2 separate regions of the Homo sapiens genome follow, and region 2 is linked to region 1. The links are contacts of gene promoters, found by promoter capture Hi-C in blood cells and fetal thymus (Javierre and others, 2016). All regions are on one chromosome and are shown on one strand. The core of a region is centred on a gene start or on the middle of the fragment in contact, and the rest is flanking DNA. Distances in the headings are between cores, read along the strand shown.

Region 1 (6,892 bases), core at 1,460-3,959:
GAGACAGGGTTTCACCATGTTGCCCAGGCCAGTCTCAAACTCCTGGGCTCATGTGATCTGCCTGCCTCAGCCTCCCAAAGTGCTGAGATTACAGGTGTGAGCCACTATGCCTAGCCTGATGCTTTCCTCTTATCTGGTGGAGACATCAGTGACTCTTTGGTCTAAGGATTGTAAATTGGCATCCTGTGCTTTAGTTCAATTAGAATATTAGTTGCTGGCCGGGCGTGGTGGCTCACGCCTGTAATCCCAGCACTTTGGGAGGCCGAGGCGGGTGGATCTTGAGGTCAGGAGATCGAGACCATCCTGGCTAACAAGGTGAAACCCCGTCTCTACTAAAAATACAAAAAATTAGCCGGGCGTGGTGGCGGGCGCCTGTAGTCCCAGCTACTCGGAGGCTGAGGCAGGAGAATGGCGTGAACCCGGGAAGCGGAGCTTGCAGTGAGCCGAGATTGCGCCACTGCAGTCCGCAGTCTGGCCTGGGCGACAGAGCGAGACTCCGTCTCAAAAAAAAAAAAAAAAGAATATTAGTTGCTAATACGTAAAAATTAGATTTGGCACAGATTTGGACTTCTGACTCATCTTAAACCTGATCTGCAGCAATGGGAAGCTGCCTTCTTGAGATCTGGCCCTATTGGCCAAAGTCCTCACTTCATCCATTTCCTTGCTGTCTGTCCCCCCATGTAAACATCTAAGATAGGCAGCCCTGCTTTAAACCCACCCTTTATTGCACAGAGGGAAAGAACAAGGCCACATGGCTCAGAGAATGTAAACAGTCACAGGAGGAGTGTCTTGCTCCGCCAAAGGCTTGAAGCAGAGCTCGCACTTGGATCTCACTTCCCACCTTTCCCCAGACTCACTCACCCATCCCAGCCCTACACTTACTGTTCCAGCTGCTCCATGGATGGTCCCTACCCATTTGAAAAGGTTGTCTGATTCAGGGAAGGCAGAAATCCCTTTATCGCCAGACATCTGGGGAGAAAACACATTTGTTGGAATGTGGAGTACACTTTTGGGCATAGCAAAGGTCAGTGGGTGAGCTTTCCCCTTAATTTTATATATATATATATATATATATATATATGCTCACATACACACACACACATATATATGTATACACACACACATATATATGTGTATATATATGAGATATAGATGGGGTTATGCCATCTCTACTAAAAAATATATATTTACATATATATATATATAGAGAGAGAGAGAGAGAGATTGAGAGAGAGAGATAGACAGAGACAGACACACACACACACTCTGTCGCCCAGGCTAGAGTGCAGTGGTGCGCTCGGCTCACCGCAACCTCTGTCTCCACGGTTCAAATGATTCTTGTGCCTCAGCCTCCCGAGTAGCTGAAATTACAGGCATGCACCACCATGCCTGGATAATTTTTGTATTTTTAGTAGAGACAGGGTTTTGCAATGTTGGCCAGGCTGGTCTCGAACTCCTGACCTCAAGTGATCCGCCCACCTTAGCCCCCCAAAGTGTTGGGATTATAAGGTGTGAGCTACCGCGCCCAGCCTCCCCTTAATCTCATCACTCTGATCCAAAATAAAGCAACCAAATTCATAGGCTAGAAATACCAAGAAGGGCGGGGAGTTGGGTGTGGGTAAAGCTTGGTTGGGGCTAGGAAGTAGGGACACACTGGATAGGGAGGGTCTTGTATGACTTCAGGGAAGTGTTCGAGATAACTTCGTGTGGGGGGATGGAATTGGGAGGAGGGACTGCTGGAAGAAATGGTGTAGGTGGGGTGTATGAACTTCTTTCCCAGGAGGGAGCAAATTACATTACCCCTATGTCTAGCAAAAAAGCTGACGGAAAAAAGGAGGCTACTGAAAATTGGATGGAAGGCTGGGGTTCTGGGCACTTAATCACTCACCATGAGGGTCATCAGCTCCTGCTGTAGCCTGAAAAAAGAGTATTCGGGGTTACCTGGGAGTCTGGATGGGCCAGGCCTCCAGACGGTGCATCTTCTCCCACCTGAATCTCAGGGGGAGCCGTCATGGAGGCTCCCCACATCACCAAGGTCAGGCTCAGCTCAGGGTATACTCACCAGATCCACAGGACGATCCTAGCGAGTCCTCACCCTCCCTAATTCCAGACTCCCTCGGGATGATTCTGGCATGTTCTTAATTCCCCAGGCTTTAGCATCTCTTCCTTGCCCGACTCAACTTCTCCCTTCCCCTGTCTCGGCCAAGTCACGAGGGTCCTTGAGCGTCTTCATCTAGGCCCACCAGGGAAGGAGTCTGGCAGCGCCCCTACCCTCCCATTCTCCTTCGGGAGAGTCTCAAAGAGCGGTCTGAGCTCCTGGCCTGTCCCCCATCTCTCGAATCTCACCCGCGCAAGGAGGTGGGAGTCCCGGAAGTCTCCGCCCTCGACACCCATGCCCAGGGGAATGCCAGGCCCCGAGCTCCTGGTGTGTTCTCCTGCACCCGCAGATCTCCCGCTCCAGGAGGTGGCGGCGGGGGGTGGTCCTAGAAATCTTTGCTCTGGGTACCAATGCCTAGGGCATGGCAGGCCCGGCGAGTGGTAGGCCGCATCACTCACCTTTTGCCCACCGGACCCCGGGCGGCGCCCCCGCTCGGCTCAGCTCCTTTACGGGCGGCGGCGACGCTAGTGGCGGCTGGGTCGCGGTTTTGGGAAGCCATCCGGGCGGCGTTGGCAGAGAGACAGGAACTCGGAGAACACGACTGCAACTGCAGGACTGCGGGCCCGCCCGCCCGCGTTTGAATTGTAACCCTCTGGGGGCGTCGACCAATCAATGGCTCGCTTGGGTTTGATCCAGCCAATGAGACGCTCCGGAGCGCTCTATTGCTGCGCCACTGCTAGACCTACCCACTGGCGCACCGCTATTGGGCGGCAGAATCCCGCTTCTGACAACCGATTGGTAGATGATGCTGCCATTAACTAACGAATCCGTAGCGAATTGGTGGCCGTTGGAAAACGCTAACCATTAAAGGGCCAAGAAAACGTCCACGTGGGATGAACCCCTCCTTCTGGCTACACGTCTTACTCCGCGTGGGAACACTCGGCACGCCCAGCCTTGATCCAATTTCCCTCGGGCAGGGAGTGCCTCCAATCCTGCAGCACTGGTACCCTCCCACCATTATAATCGCCTGGGCACCTTTGCTGCGTCCTAAGTATCTGAAAATCCCAGCGAGGGGAAAAACTAAAGGCTGATGGCCAGAGCAGCAGGCTCCCTATTAGAAAACATAGGTCCATACATCTCCGCAGAGATGACAGAAATAAAAAAAGGCAACATTGGTTCAGGCTGGTCGCAGTGGCTCACGTCCGTAATCCCGAACACTTTGGAAGGCCCAGGCAGGAGGATCACTTGAACCCAGGAGTTCGAGACCAGCCTGAGCAACAGGATAGGGAGACCTGTCTCTACTTAAAAGAAAAAAAAAAAAAAAGAAAAGAAAAAAAAAAAAGGCTGGTGAGGTGGCACGAGCCTGTAGTCCCAGCTACTGGCGAGGCTGAGGCGGGAGAATCGCTTGAGCCAGAGGCTGCACTCTAGCCTGGGCAACAGAGCAAGACTGTCTTCAAACAAACAAAAACCCCAACAACACAGGTTCATATCCTGTATATCCTACCTCCCCAGTGGGTAGTGTGTAACCTTGGGGCGGGTCCTTTAGTATCTTAACCTGTAAAATGGGAGCAATAAAAGCCAACTCTATTTTTCATATGATCTGTCATCAAACTCCATCGCATTCTGCCATGTCCTTACATTAGCTGGGTAAGGAAACTACAAATGGGCAAAGGGAAGACGGGCAGGGTACATGGTGCTCCCAGGTTGGTCTTATCAAGCCTGGCTCTATACTGTTATGGGTGAGGGTTATCTCGTCCTTTTTTCCTACACCCACTTCTAGAGCCCTTGATGTTCTGTCAATTCCCACAAGGTAGAGGGCACAGCAGGTTCACCATCTGTGTTTACTACAAACTGTTTAATTGTTTCTTATCCCAATAACTTTACAAATATAGAACCACATGCTAGTCTGGGGGTGCTGTGCAGTGAGTCACTACAAACTCGCTCAGGCACAGCTTAATGCCGCTGAGATCCATCTAGGAGCAGTCCCAGCGGTGGCCTCAGCCACGTGAGGAAGAGGGCTTTGGAGGAGGGCTGCCAAGTGTGGCCAGGGGACCCGGCCTCAGGTCTGTGGAGGTGCTTCAACAGCACGATGCTCATTCTCTGTCCGTAGTGTCTCCATATACTTTCTCATCTTCTCCACCATCCAGGAGGGTAGGACAAAGGATTTCAATTCCTCTAGCTTCAGATCCAGGCATCCTCTGGAACAGACATTGAAGAGAGAAGTTGGGGGAAGTGAGGATGTAGGCCCTGCCTCATTCTAGGGGCTATTTGGAGGCAGGGAGAGGAGAAGGGGCAGGAGACCCACTGGTTTTACCTGTAATCATCACTGGCCGCAAGGTCCCGGATGTCCTCCTCGATGAGGAGGTAGGCCTGAGGCAGGAGCAAGGGAGAGTGGTCATTGCCTGATTCATTTCACTCCAACTCAGTAACACTTCATTAAACATCTGTTTAATGTAAGGCCTGCTACTAGGTGGAAGCGGGGGATGCGGTTTACAATTTAGTACGGAAGAGTAAGTGGGGAGGGATGGGAATGGTTCCTTGAGACAATCTTTTACTACAGTAGATGCTTCATGGATGGGAGAGTAGGGACTGGTGACTTATTTATAGCCTTCTCTTTTAAAAAAGGACCCATTTCTCTCTTGAATGGTGTGGTGAAAATTAAGAAAAAAAAAAAAAAAAGAAAAAAAGAAAAAAAAAGGGATCCACCATTGCTCCTACACCTTTTGGTTAAGATCAAGTATACGAAAGGACCCAAGGTGGGTTATAACAAAATGGCAAGAAAGCCAGCAAAATATATATGGAAACAGGAAATCAGGAAGAGGAAACCATGTGCTCCCTCTGAGGACAAAGATAACTTGGTTTTGAACTTTGTGGCAAAATGGAAAACATGATAAACTGCTCTGCTGTCTAGTAATTGGCCTGTATTGTACTGGGGCCTGTAGAAATGCTTTGTCACAATGCCTCGGTCTACAGTGGGTGAGGGCCCTTTTGTGAACTTAACATATAGGAAGAGATATTCATCATATTAGAAAGTCTTCTGTGGGAGACTTTCTAATGTTAGGGTCAGGAATAATTGTGTATTCCTTGAGTAATTTGTCTACATCTTATGGGCACTATGAACCATAACAGATCAGGTGTCCATGAGTGGGGCCTACAGCTGAATTTGCCAACATCTGTAGAAGTGCACAGGTCTCCCAGGTCAGCAATATAAAAAACACTTTTTTTTTTTAAAGAACTACTTTTACTGGTGGCTTAATTTTAGGTCCTGCCCCCACCCCCTACCATCTATTTCTTATTTATGTAATGTTGCATTTTATGTGCATGAAGCTTACCTGAAATCTTTTTTGAAGTAAAGCATAGGCATAAATAGAGTAGTAAAATAAAATAAAAGGTAGCTCTCACTGCCAGAAAGGAGATGGCATATCAGTTTGTAAGGCACTTAGATTCTAAAAGGAGCAGTACCTGTGGTGGGAGTGAGTGAGTCCTCAGGTGGGGGACATTGTGTGTGATGGACAAAGCCCTCAACAATAGTTTTTGAACACATGCAATGATGATTTTCCTAAGGTTGCTGTTTCATATGATCTGAGAACTCTTCAAGTAGAGGTAAATCTGGAAGGGGCTGCCAAGTGTGCAAACACATTTCATTGCTAACTCCTACTGACAAGGGTTGCTGCCTCAAGTACTGTGTTGAGAAAAGATTCTATAGCTGTGTCTGGTGGAAGAGTGATCAATGAGTGAAATCTGTCAGTGGGTGCAGTAGTGGGAAAAAGTAGTACTGTGTGTCTTATACCTGCTATTCCTATGGACAGCTAATAGTATCCAAATATGTGATCTTGGAGGCATGAGGTAAAAGTGTGAGGGGGCGGAAGGGAGACCTAGGGATAGGGAAGGGAACCTGAAGATTACAATTTGCTCTTCAGCATGAAGAAATAGGCCTTATAAGTCTCTCTTCTCACACATTGGTGAGGCTTTGGAAGTCAGATTTGGAGGTAGGCTGTCACCCACAGCCAAAATCCTGGTTCCCAGGTGGGGTGGGTCACTGGCAGTGGCACAAATGAATAATGCTTACCATCTTGCCCCCTGTTGCCCGCATGTGATGCTGCTCAGCCAGCCAGTGCTTATCCTGGGGGTCAGCTGCATACTGTAAGGAATGAAGTTGTAAGAAAATTAGCCTCGGGTAAGGGGCTTTTCTCATTTGGTCCCAGAGCATACTCTTGGCCCTTGAGCAGTTCTTACCAAAAGTCCTTGTCTCCAAGCGTGGTGGACTTAGAGGGCTCACTAATCTCTTCAGAGAAAGCTAAGCCAACCCCGAGGGCAGACCATGGGACCCAATTCCCAGAGACTTAGTATACTCCCAATCCCCACCCCCTTCTCACAACAAAGCACCCCGGGCAACTGGTGGGACTGATAACTATTATTTTAGAGCTTCCTCTTTTTAAAAAATGATCGGAGGTGGCTTATAACGTCTGTAATTATTATGGTGACCATAATAAAACAAAAATCGGGACACCTCATGTACTCTCGGACGCATAATAGCATCATGGTTAAGAATTCGGTTTTGGAGTTACAAATAAGGTTGGTTGGTTTATTGATTGATTGATTGATTGATCGATTGAGACGGAGTTTCACTCTTGTTGCCCAGGCTGGAGTGCAATGGCATGATCTTGCTTCATCACAACCTCCGCCTCCTGGGTTCAAGCGATTCTCCTGCCTCAGCCTCCCAAGTAGCTGGCACTACAGGCATGCGCCACCACGCCCGGCTAATTTTGTATTTTTAGTAGAGATGGGATTTCT
Region 2 (6,892 bases), core at 4,393-6,892, 850 kb after region 1:
TCAACGCGCAAATTGCCCCACTGTCTTTCTTAAAGGCCTCCCCTTTAAGTCAGTTTGCAGACATAAAAATAAGCAACATTAATTAAGCATTTGCCGTGTACTTGTCTTCATATATTATCTCATTTAATCCCCTGTGTCAAGCCGATAAGGTCATCCCCGTTTTTATTTATTTAATGATTTAACACAGTCCCTAAACGTTTTCAGTGCTTTACCTCATTTAATACTCCTAACAACCTAGACGGTATTATTATTATTCCTACTTCATAAGGCCAGAGAGGTGAAGTATCTAGCCCAAGGTCACATAGCTTAGAGTATAGGTTTGGGGATTTAAATCCAGTTTGGTCTGATTTCAGGGCCTGCACCACCAAACTGGACAGCCATGGGTGTGTAACCTCTTTTTGGGCCTGAGAAACAGACCTTTCTCTCCACTCAGAGCTCCGGCTTCAGCTATTGTGCTTCCGAATGCCACTACCATCAGTAAGTATTAGGAAAATGGCAGATTCTACCCAATTGACCCATGGGGAAAGTTATAGGAGAAAACTTAACCAGAGCAACCTCTCACTGTTTTTAATTGCCTTGCTTTTCCCAAGGATATGCCATCTACAGAACTTAACACCTGAGCACCCACCCTTCAGGGCCACCCATGGGCCCAAAACGGGATAAAGGAGCCATTCCCTGACATAGGAGGAAAACATTTGCTGAGAAGCTACTGTGTGCCAGACACAATCTTGGACTTTCACTTAATCCTCAAAACAGCCCTAGGAAGAAGTACCTACCGTTAACAGATAAGAAAGCTGAGACCCACGGTTTACACAGCTAAGGAGAGCAAAGGTTTTAACCCAGGACTGTCCTGACTCCACAACATCAAAGTTGTTGTTTTGTTTTTGGTGTTTTGTAGAAACAGGATCTCCCTATTATTACCCAGGCTGGTCTCAAACTCCTGGGCTGCAGCAGTCCTCCCACCTCGGCCTCCCAGAGTGCTGGGATTACAGGCAAGAGCCACCACACCTGGCTGATGAATAGGAATTGGGTAAACATTTTTGAAAATTAAATACCAAATTACCATTACACAATGCCAAACAGACCTCCTTTGTCCCCTTCCCAGGATTTTTCCAGAAGATGGACTCACATTATGATGGCCCCCTTTTTCCGCAGAGTGTTCCCAATGAAAATTTCTGAAATGATGGGAATGTTCTAAATATGTGCTGTCCGAAATAGTAACCATTAGCCACATATGGCTATTGAGCACTTTAAATGTGGCTAGCATAACTGAAAGGCCACATTTTTATTTAAATTTAAATTTAAATAGCAAACCGTGGCTAATCATAATAATAGCTTAAGAGAGAAATGGTGAGCAGGGTTACTGGGAGAGGTATTTTCCTATAAGCTCTGGATATACAGTTGACCTGGGAACAACAAGGGTTTGAGCTGCATGGGTCCACCAATACAACCCTTGTTTTGTTTTGTTTTGTTTTCAATAAATACAGTCAGCCCTCTCTATCAGAGGGTTCCACATCCACAATGAAACATGGTTGGAAAATACAGTATGGGATGTGAAACCTGTGTATAGGGTGGGCTGACTTTTCGTTTCCATAGGTTCTGCAGGGTCAACTATAGTACATGAGTATACTCACATTTTAGTATCCTAATAGATCCTCAAACCAACACCTGGCAGAAAATGGGGAACAATTGCATAACAGTATTCAAGGGACTGGGTATGATGGCTTGCACCTGTAATCCCAGCACTTTTGGAGGCCAAGGCAGAACAGGAGTTCGAGACCAGCCTGGGCAATATGGTGAAACCCCTTTTCTACAAAAAACTTAGCCAAGCATGGCATATTTGTGTAATGCCATTTGCATGACCCACATGGTCACCCTGGACCCCGTGGATCAGGCCCTGCCTGGTGCCACCACCGCCACTTCTGTGCCAGGCCCCCAGTGTGATGCAAGTTGCATGATGCTCTTTGCTGTAGTGCCTTTTAATGGCATAGCTTTGGCAGGTTTGGAGATGTTCAGAATAGGCAAATCCTGTGGTGGATTTGTGGTTGTCTAAGGCCCTGGTGGAAGGGAGCATAGGTGAATTGGAGGGGATGATTAAAAGGTGTGAGATTTCATTTTGGGGTGATGAAAATGTTCTAAAATTGGTTGTAGTAATGGTTATACAACTCTGAATATACTAAAAGGCATTGAATTGTACACTTTCAATATGTGAGTTATATCTCAATAAAGCTATTTTACAAAAAAAGACACCTCTTCCCAGAAGACTTCTCTGTTCCCTTGTCCCTCCCCTGACCCTCTCATCTGTCCCTCCTTCAAATTATTTCAGTACTGTTTTTATCAGTCCTGGCATTTATAGGAAGCACTGCAGGAAGGGATTTCCAGGTATTGACTGCTGTGTAAGAAACCACCCCAAAGTTTATAGGCATAGAACAACAGTCTTTTTTTCTTCTCAGAAATCTACAATTTGAGCATGGCTCAGCAGGAAGGCTCATCTCTGTTTATGGTGTCAATCAGGATCAATCAGCCCTGTCCAAAAGGCATTTCACACAGCTGACAGGTTGGTGCTAGCTGTTGGCTGGAAGCTCACTTGGGTCTGAAGGCTAGGGGCGTCTCCATTTTTCTTGAGCTTCCTCACAAAATAAAGCCTGGGTTCTAAAGCATGTTCCCGAGGGAGAGCCAAGTGGGATGCTGCAGTGCCTTTTAGTGGAAGATACTTAATGTCATTACCACTGTGGAGGGGGGCCACAAAGGCCCACCCAGTTTCAAGGAGAAGGGATGCAGACTCCACCTCCTCATAGGGCAGTGGCAAGGGTCTGGAAGAGCTTGGGGAACCAGAAATATTATTGGGGCCATTTTTGGAAAATAAAATTTGCCACAGCTACACTTATCCGATAAACCACTCAGGAAATATTCAGCTGCAAGCAAGTGAAAACATCTAAATGTTGGCTTAAAGCACCATGGCATTTACTGTTTGTTTTGAGACAGAGTCTCGCCGTATTGCCCAGGATGGACCACAGCAGCCCAGTGATCTGGGCTCACTGGATTCAAGCAATTCTCCTGCCTCAGCCTCCTGAGTAGCTGGGATTACAGGCGCATGCCACCACGCCCAGCTACTGTTTGTATTTTTAGTAGAGATGGGGTTTCACCATGTTGGCCAGGTTGGTCTCAAACTCCTGACTTCAAGTGATCCGTCCACCTCGGCCTCCCAAAGAGCTGGGATTACAGCTGTGAGCCACCACACCTTGCCTTTATTGTTTATTAATAAGCTAATAAGTCAGCAGTTGATTCAATGACTCAGCAATATCTATTTCATTTTTTCCCCTCCCATCCTACTCAGCATGTTGGCTTTTCATACTTGTGTTTATTGCCTCATGGTTGCAAAATGACTGCCACACCTCCAGGTATCATATCCTTAACCCAGCACTACCCAAAGCAGAAAAAGAGCAAGAATGGCTACTTGACCCAGTACCTCTCTGTTATGGGGAGGGAAACCTTTCCCATAAACACTCAGCAGACTCTTTTTTTTTTTTTTTTTTTTTTTTGAGACGGAGTGTTGCTCTGTCGCCCAGGCTGGAGTGCAGCAGTGCAATCTCAGCTCACTGCAACCTCCACCTCCCGGGTTCAAGCTATTCTCCTGCCTCAGCCTCCTGAGTAGCTGGGACTACAGGTGCGTGCCACCACCCCAGCTAATTTTTTGTATTATTAGTAGAGATGGGGTTTCACTGTGTTAGCCAGGATGGTCTCGATTTCCTGCCTTGTGATCCACCCGCCTCGGCCTCCCAAAGTGCTAGGACTACAGATGTGAGCCACTGCGACCAGCCTCAGACTCCCTTTTATCTCATTGCCCAGATCAGCATCACATGTGCATCCCTTGATGAATCACTGGCAAGAGAAAATGACATTTTTCTAATTGGCTTAGAGCAATCCTGATTCACTTCCCCAGGCTGGGAGAGTCTCAGGCAAAATTCAGGCTCCTGGAAGCAAAGATGGAAGTCACTGAGTAGCCAGCCAGCAGCATGGGCCTCATCTGGTTTTCCCACCACAGTCAGTGTTCATCCTTGGTCGGGGCAGAGGGCAAGGGGAAGCATTTCAGATGGAACAGCCATCCAGCCCTCAGAAAGCTTATAGTCTGGTGGAGTTAAGTGTATGCAGATCATTATAACTGAATTCCTGAAGGTAGAGACTAGATCTTTATCAATCAATGACTTTTATTGGATGCCAGACCCTATTAGGGTCTTGGATAAACAAAGATAAAAAGGACCCACTTCCTGCCATTAAAGACCTCGCAGTGTTTAAGGAAAACTACAAACTGGCAATCAAAGGGTGACTAATGCAAAGTTAGGGATAAAGCTAGAGACCAATAGGGAGCAAAGGGAGCATAGTGGGGGGTGGGGAGGGGGCTGGAAGCAGGAAAGGCTTTCAGAGAAGATGATGTTTGAATGGAATGTTATAAGTTAATTCAGGATTAGGCAGGAGAAAAAGTATTTAGAAAAAAAAATCCAGGAGAAGGAGATAACAAGCAAAGGCTAGGAAGCAAGAATTTAGTGTGTGTAGATAGCAATGCGTGGGACATAGAGTCGTCAGATGAGGCTGGAGATAAATTGAAGTCACACTCTGTGAAAGATCTTCATCCATTCTGAAAGCTGATCATACGAATTGGGTCATTCTTGTCATATCCAACTAAGACAGAATTGAAAAGCCAGGGGAACAAATACTCAGGGCATATAACATTGCTCCAAAAAAGTAATTTTTTGCAAGCCTGGCTGCTAAAACTGCCTGCTGTAACCTAAAACCAGTTTTATCTAATAGCTACTGAAACAGCCTGCTACAATTCTGAGTTTTATCCACCACTATCACTTACCAATCAAAGCTTGCCAGCTCCCCAAGAAGCTGATAAACCCCCACTTTACTAGTGCCTGTAAACTTCCTTGAAGAGCAATATGTAACATTTCTGTTTTATAAAAATCTCCAAACCTTCTCTTTGTTCTTCTGACATACCAAAGACAACCTGGTCTGTGTGTAAGCCCTGAATTGCAATTCTTGATTGCCAAATAAAATATTTAAACTTTAGAGATTCATCTCTATATGTTGACTTTGACACCATCAATCCACCTGTGCATTAATTTATTAAATAAATATCTATAGAGCACTAGGTACCAGGTACTTTCTAGCCTTGGAACCTTTGCACTTACCATCCCTCTGGCTGGAACAGCATTCCCTAAATCTTGTCTGGTCTCAGCTCAACTATTACCCCCTGAGAAAGGCCTTCCTTCATCCCCTTATTTAAAATAGCCCACACGTGGTCACTTTCCATTGCATTATCCTGTTTTGTTTTCCTTACAGCACTAATCACATGAAATGAGAGTCTTCGTTTGCTTATCAGTTAATTGCCTGTGGGGACCCCACTAGGACATAATCTCCCTGATAGCGGGGCCAGCCTCCTTCCCTGCGTCATCCACGGCGTTCTAGCAACTCAGGGAGCCCAGAGCATGCTGCCGCCCCGCGTGCAAGGGAGCCTAAGTTCCAAACCGAGCACGCGCAGAGGGCGGGACGCTCCGGGCCTCCAGGTCTCGCAGGCCCCGCCCCCTCGCCGCGGGTTCGCTGTTGGGCGGAGATATTCGCCGCCGGCGCTTGCGCCCGGAAGGTGTGCCGCACCACACGGGGGAGGAAGGAAGGAGCTCCCAACTCGCCGGCCTGGCCACGGGATGGCCCCCAAATTCCCAGACTCTGTGGAGGAGCTCCGCGCCGCCGGCAATGAGAGTTTCCGCAACGGCCAGTACGCCGAGGCCTCCGCGCTCTACGGCCGCGCGCTGCGGGTGCTGCAGGCGCAAGGTACGACCCCGGCCCCCATCTCACCTCCGGGCCTGCTCCTCCAACTCCCGCAACCACCGCCCGGGCCTCGCGCGGCGGCCAGCAGTCCTGCCCGGCCCTCCCACCCTTCCAGCCCCTTCCGACTCCGGCATCCTACCAGAAACTTCCTCGGCCCTTTCTTTCCACCTGCTTGTTAACTGCCCTGTTGGCCCCCATCCTAAGTTATTTAGGCCTCGTTCTGAGCCCTGAGAAGAAAGCTAAACCCTCCTCCCCCGCAGCAATTCATTTTTCAGTTAGTATTTGTTGAGTAGCTGTTATATACCGCCTGTGTAACAAGACACAAAAAGTCCCTTCTCTCAAGGACAGCGCATTCTTGTGGGGGCGGTGGGGAGGACGTGAGTCTTAAGCGAGTCAGTAAGTAAACGAGACCTGTGGGATAATCAGGGTTAGGAAGAAGACAAATAGGGTGATGTGATAGAGTTGACTGGAGTGGGAGATCAAGGGCAACATCTGTAAAGAAGTGATATTTGAGGTGATGTCTAAATGATGAGAAGCCAAGCGCACAAGGTTTTCGGTCCTGAAGTGAACTGCAATGAGAAAGGCCCCCCCTCCAAGACGATATAAACATGGTGTGTTTCAGGGGTCAAAGCATAGTGAGCCAGGGCAGGGAATAGGAAGACATGAGGTCAGTTAGGAAGGCAGACCCTTATTTATTGTGGAGGTGTTGTAAACTCTGCTAAGGAGTTCGGATTTCATGCCAAACTGGAAGCTTGGCATGAAAGCTGCTGGATGGGAAGCTACTGGAGAGTTTGAAACAGAAGAATAGCATATTCTTACCAGTTCTCCCAGCGTCCAGCTTTCGTCAGCATACCGCAGACCTTTGCCCAAAGCCCCTTCTCCAGGGTGACTTAATCAGAAACCCTCATTGGTTAAAGCCTTGACTTTTGAAAGGAGCCTTGGATCCTGGTTTCTGTGAGTCACCGTTCAGTACCTATTTCCCTTTGCCGCCTTCCTTTTTTTCCTTTTCTTGGCTAGCATCTCTTGAGTGATTTACCATGTGCTAGACATTTTAGACACGATC

Evidence for each region. The method cuts DNA at HindIII sites, captures the fragments that hold promoters and counts their contacts. A CHiCAGO score of 5 or more calls a contact.
Region 2: a contact is called between the fragment with the promoter of TOMM34 here and the fragment with the promoter of UBE2C in region 1, in 1 of 17 cell types (erythroblasts). The highest score is 7.7, in erythroblasts.

The regions. Positions count from the first base shown.
Region 1 is chr20:45,808,461-45,815,352 of GRCh38, reverse strand. It overlaps UBE2C (ubiquitin conjugating enzyme E2 C), which reads right to left and starts at 2,709. Exons shown (of 6, transcript NM_007019.4): 1 at 2,557-2,709; 2 at 1,889-1,916; 3 at 883-969. The coding sequence starts at 2,657. It overlaps DNTTIP1 (deoxynucleotidyltransferase terminal interacting protein 1), which reads right to left. Exons shown (of 13, transcript NM_052951.3): 11 at 6,168-6,239; 12 at 4,413-4,468; 13 at 3,935-4,296. The coding sequence ends at 4,158. RefSeq lists a silencer at 2,717-2,906 and an enhancer at 4,934-5,103. The HindIII fragment of the contact is 3,801 bases long and covers 1,627-5,427 here.
Region 2 is chr20:44,959,147-44,966,038 of GRCh38, reverse strand. It overlaps TOMM34 (translocase of outer mitochondrial membrane 34), which reads left to right and starts at 5,642. Exons shown (of 7, transcript NM_006809.5): 1 at 5,642-5,832. The coding sequence starts at 5,706. LOC124904912 (a long non-coding RNA gene) reads right to left here. Exons shown (of 2, transcript XR_007067599.1): 2 at 6,502-6,892. STK4-DT (STK4 divergent transcript) reads left to right here. Exons shown (of 3, transcript NR_038341.1): 2 at 354-477; 3 at 591-2,245. RefSeq lists a silencer at 5,384-5,463 and enhancers at 5,694-5,783, 5,794-5,843, 6,624-6,713. The HindIII fragment of the contact is 1,710 bases long and covers 4,873-6,582 here.